Linked DNA regions of Homo sapiens: region 2 is linked to region 1. The links are contacts of gene promoters, found by promoter capture Hi-C in blood cells and fetal thymus (Javierre and others, 2016). All regions are on one chromosome and are shown on one strand. Each heading gives the region's core, a stretch centred on a gene start or on the middle of the fragment in contact. The rest is flanking DNA. Distances are from core to core; before and after follow the strand shown.

Evidence for each region. The method cuts DNA at HindIII sites, captures the fragments that hold promoters and counts their contacts. A CHiCAGO score of 5 or more calls a contact.
Region 2: a contact is called between a fragment that was not itself captured here and the fragment with the promoter of FHAD1 in region 1, in 7 of 17 cell types (M1 macrophages, M2 macrophages, megakaryocytes and 4 more). The highest score is 8.5, in M1 macrophages.

What each region holds. Positions count from the first base shown.
Region 1 is chr1:15,245,916-15,248,524 of GRCh38, reverse strand. It overlaps FHAD1 (forkhead associated phosphopeptide binding domain 1), which reads right to left and starts at 1,302. Exons shown (of 34, transcript NM_001391957.1): 1 at 1,130-1,302. RefSeq lists silencers at 1,037-1,276, 1,294-1,467. The HindIII fragment of the contact is 5,643 bases long and covers 1-2,609 here.
Region 2 is chr1:15,124,866-15,127,474 of GRCh38, reverse strand. All of the region lies in intron 1 of TMEM51-AS1 (TMEM51 antisense RNA 1), which reads left to right. Among named protein-coding and RNA genes, the nearest start is that of TMEM51-AS1, 26 kb to the left of the region's middle. The HindIII fragment of the contact is 8,431 bases long and covers 1-2,609 here.

The DNA.
Region 1 (2,609 bases), core at 53-2,552:
ACTGGAGTTTCCTGAGCTTGGGGTTCCTTAGCTGGGAAACAGACTCGCAGTGTGCACAGCATCCACCTGAGCTGTCCTGCATCACCCCGGGGTACTTGCAGGGCAAGGGGAACCAACGCAAACATGAGCTCACAGTGCCTGCTGTGCTGTGAGTAATAACATCCTTTGTCTCTGGTCCTGGAGTCTCTGGTCTTCTGCTAGCATCATTAAGCAGTGGCAGGCTAACTTAGCTTGCAAGTAGTGTAAAAATCTCAGACCCTTTGCATTTCCTCACAGTCTGTTCATTACTCCCCTCTGGCCCCCAGCGCTGCCATGCCTGACACATAGTGGTGCTCAGTAAATCATGAATGAATGAAAGTACAAAACAATGCTTAAAAGTAAGTCAGGGTAGCCTAAGAACCTCTGACAGTAACTACCTTTCATTTTCCCCTTCAGTATTTATCCTAGATGACATTCTGGAAAAAAAAAAAAAAGTCTATTTCTTTAGCTGAATGGGTTGGGCCCTATTTCCCCACTTTAATCTTGCCCTGTGCAGTCACTTTCCTACCTGAAAACACTGTAGAAAGTGATTAGATGCGTTAAACTCTGTAAATTAGTTCTAAGACACAGGGCACCGACCATGCAAAAGAGCAAAAGAGCTTCAGGCATCTGCACTCCCTGCTTATAGGTCACAAGTGAGATAGAGAAGCAAAATTTCTGTTGAGGGGTTACCAGATCTTAAGTGGCCTGGGAGCCCTAGAAATTCCTCAGTGTTGTATTTGGGAAGGGAGAGGTTAGGCAAGGGGGGAGTCTCTCTGACCGCCGGGTGGGTGTCGTTCGTAAGTCAGGGGCAGCAGGGATGCCCCTCCTAATCCCAGCTGTAACCCCCAGGACTTCCCAGAGTGGCATGGCTGGTGCCAAGGAGGGTCTAAGGCTCCCGGGGGCTTCCTCCGCGGGCGGGGTGGGGCCTGCATCTGGAAAGGAGGGGCTGGTGTTGGGGTAGCTACTGGGGTGCTCCTGGGGACCGGAGCCTGGATCCAGGAGGATGGGGCCGGGGAGCCACCCCTCCTCCTGCCAGGGCTAGTCCTCGCTGGGCCGCCCCTTCCGGTCCCCGGTCTCGGCCCGCCACCCCTTCCCGCGCCGCACTCACCTGGCGGGAGGAGGAAGCCCACGCTCCGACCTCCGCCGAGAGCCCTGCCAGCTCGGGAGGCGTCGGGCCAGCTCCGGGGCGAAGCCTCCCGGCCGCGCTCCCGCGGAGTCTCCAGCTCGCACCCGGCACCCCGCCCGCCCGGCCGGCCTGTGTACGCGCGTTGCCATGGCAACGCCGCCAGGCGCCGCGGGGTCCAGCCTAATAGATGAGGGCGTGGCCTGCGCGGCAGAGGGGGCGTGGCACCGTGCAGGGAACGCCCACTGGGTTACCGCCTGCTGAATGCTCCAGGCCCCACGAGCCTGCCCCATTTCACAGATAGGAAAGCGGAGGCTCAGAGGTCACAGAAATGGCCCAAGGTTTTACAGCGAGGAAGGAGCAGGGAGGAGATTTGATTCAAGAATCCTTTCCATTACCCCTCACTGTAAGCTGGATGCGTTGAGGGAGGGTCGGGGGCGATAGGGAGAGGTAGGAGATTGATGGAGCTGAACTCATGAGACCCTTGGAGGTTAGTATGCCCCCTGCCCTACCCAAATCTCTAGTCCTTTCCGTTACAGGCCAGAAAATAGAAAGAGTAAGAAGAGGGGATCTCTGGGAGTGGGGTGGGGATTGGGAAAGGGATGGGGTGGAATGAAAAATTTTGAAAGAATGAGGATTTCTTCCATGTGCTGGGGAAAAAATATTTCCAAACTCACAATCCTGCTGCCTCTGCTCCTCCCTGTTAAGAGTGACATTTATTCATTCTTTTGCCCTTTCTCTATCTCTGCAAACATCTTTTGAGTCCTATGAGTGTCACACGCTGATCCCAGAATACACCTGGAACAGTTACTGTCCTTAAGAAACCGCTTGTCAGCCGGCACAGGACTCGCGGGATGGAGTGTGTTGAGCAGATGTGCAAATCCTATCTCCCGCCACTATCTCCAGCAGGAAATCCTATCTCCTGCTGACTCTACCTGGAGAGTGATTCCTTTCACTGGCAGGAAATGGCTGACCAGACACCTCAAGAAAAACTCTAAACGTTTTTCTAAGAGAGATGAACTATGGCACATTCTACCCTAGTGATACGGTTTGGCTGTGTGTCCCCACCCAAATTTCATCTCGAATTGCACTCCCCACGTGTTGGAAGAGGGGCCTGGTGGGAGGTGATTGAATCATGGGGGCAGACTTCCCGCTTGCTTTTCTCATGATAGCGAGTGAGTTCTCATGAGATCTGATGGTTTAAAAGTGTGGCACTTCCCCCTTTGCTCTCTCTCTCTCCTGCTACACCATGTTACAACATGCTAGCTTCCTTGCTTCCCCTTGGCCTTCCGCCATAACTGTAAGTTTCCTGAGGCCTCCCTAGCAGTGCAGAACTGTGAGTCAATTAAACTTCTTTTCTTTGTAAATTATTCAGTCTCAAGGAATTACTTTATAGCAGTGTGAGAACAGACTAATACACCTAGTCAATAGGAAGAGGATCTGAGAGAGAAATCATGGACATCGA
Region 2 (2,609 bases), core at 73-2,572, 120 kb after region 1:
GCAGACTCATGGTACAGTGAGCTCACAGCCACAGGAGACTGCAGGCCGATGCTGCATGAGGAATCTGTTGGGTGCCATAAAGCAGTGGTTCCCAACTGTGGCACTTATGTCCCTCATGGAGTGTGACCTGATTTGGGGGACATGCAGGTGAGCATTTGCAGGAATATTTATTTGTATATTTATGTGCATACTTGGCACATAGAGGCACACATATCCGTACCCACATCTATGTATTAGAAAACAGAGCCAGCGTCTTAGGCCTGTGGTTACACAGACACAGGCAGTGATGTCAGGTCTGGCCCGATTTAAAATAGGCAGCTATTATGCCAATAATAGTAGAGCTGGTTGTGGATGTGGTTGGAATAGTCAGGGTGGTCTTGGGGAACCCAGCCATAGAGGAACTTTCTGCTTGGGTTTGGAGACTGATGTCAGTGACATGGACTGGCTTTCCTGTGAGTGAGGACTCCACCCCAGGGCCTTCACTCTTGTGTCACCAAGAGGGTGTCGGCAAAGTTGCCGTTTTTAACAAGCCAGTCTGAAGCCTCTGGTGACCTCGATGCTGGAGTTTGTTGGGTTAAGTGACCACAAAACCAAATGAACCTGCCCACCTAACACGTGTCTCCTGGAGTCTTTCACTCTTGCTTTGTGTTTCTTTTCTTCACAGCACCTGCTGACATGATATATATGTATGTGTGCATTATTTCAGGCCAGAGACTGTTTTGTCAGTAGATCTATTTCACATAGTGCTGGCATAAGGCACACACACCCAGCAAGTGTTTGTTGAGTGAATAAATGATGGAAGCAACTTTGATAAGACTTGCTCCAGTTGTTTGGGGATGCCAGTTGCATGCCCATCTATCTCTGAGAGGCTCCTGGAAGAGCATCTTGCAGCAAGTGTACCAGGGCTCTGTGCTGTCAGGGTGGTGTTGGCTCCATCCTCTTGGCGCTGGGTTGATCTCTATCCTGAGCTAGAACCGGAGTTGTCCTGGAGAGGAACCTGGCCAGAAAAGAGCCATGTGGAAACCCTGTGAAGAAACCAAAAGAGGGGCGATGGTCCTGGGGTGTCCAGATGGTGGCATGGCAGTGAGGAGACACAGAGCCATAACTTGCCCACAAAAGCAGCCTGGCTTCTGACTCTGCAACTCTCACAGGCTCAAGGGGACGACATTGTAACCAAAATGCAGATTCAGTTCCTCGCCACTTGCAGAGTCTAATTAACAAGCTAGGTCTGGTATAAAGAAAGTGACTTTTTATTCCAAAGCTAACATAGGGAAAGAAGTACAGGCTTCCTGCCTTAAGGGTTCCACCTTGCCTTTGGAGCAGAAGGGGAGTGTTTTTAAAAGGGGCCTACACAGGGGTGGAAGTGAGCAGGGGGGTTTCACATGCTACCTTGATGGCTTATTTACTGGGACTCGAGTTGGCATCTTCATGGGCATACTTTGGGTCATCAATCAACTGTTATCTATCGAGGAAACCTCCTGGTGGGTGAGAGTTTTGCTTTGGAGCTTCTAAGCACATGATTAGGTGAACTTGCCCTGTAAGGAGTGTGTGGGGAAGAGGAGGTAAAAGGCTATAACTGCATTTCTAAAGAGCTAAGTAGGAAGTGAAGAACAGGGAGAAATGGAGAAAAGAAGAGAAAATAATAAAGAATAATAGTAACTCCTTGTCTTTTTCCGGGAAAAATGGGGGCACTTGTTACTCATCTCTAGCAGCAAGACTGGGTCAATTAAAAAAACAGAAGAATTTAGGATTCTTTCATGCTTCCAAGTTGTTCTGTGTAATGCAGATAGAGTCCTTAAAATGCAGGCGAGAGTTGTGTGTGTGCATGTGTGTGGTATGTAGTTGCTGGGAGAAAGGGTGGGAGTCACCTCAGTGTCAAGGCCAGTGGACAGTAGGTCATTTACCTGGGAATCTTCTCCAGTCAAGCATGTGGAATCCAATTCTAGTTGTCTTTAGCTGGTGATGGGGGTAGTGTGTGAGACTCTTACGTGCTGAATTGCATATCCTCAAAATTCAGATGTGGAGTACCTAAGGGTGTATTTGGAGATCAGATCTTTAAAGAGGTAATTAAGTTCAAATGAGGTCAGATGGGTGGGCCCTAATCCAACATGACTACTGCCTTATAAGAAGAGGCGATTTGGGCACACACATACATAGAGAGGCAACCGTGGATGGACCACAAGGAGAATATGGCCGTTTGCAAGCCAAGGAGAGGGGCCTCAGAAGAAGCCAACCCTGCTGGCACCCTGAGGTTGGATTTCCAGCCTCCAGGACCATAGGCGGGTCCATGTCTGTTGTGCAAGCACCGTGGCCTGTGGCTCTTGATTATGGCAGCCCTAGCAAACTAAGACACAGAGAAATGGGAATGGTAGGGTGGTGGTGCTTAGTGCATCACAACCAAACCTCAGAAAGCAGGGGTGGACGTGGCCTTGGAGACGACTGGATCTGAGAATAGATCAGTTGTCCTTGCCCCCCTCCCGCATCTAGGCATCCGACTCTGGCTGGGCCCCGTTCTCTAGGCATCTCCTTGTGGGTGGGATGGGGCAGCCTGCAGCTCTGGGACTCGTCGTACAGCTTAAGATCCAAAAAAAAGCGGCAGCTCACCGCCA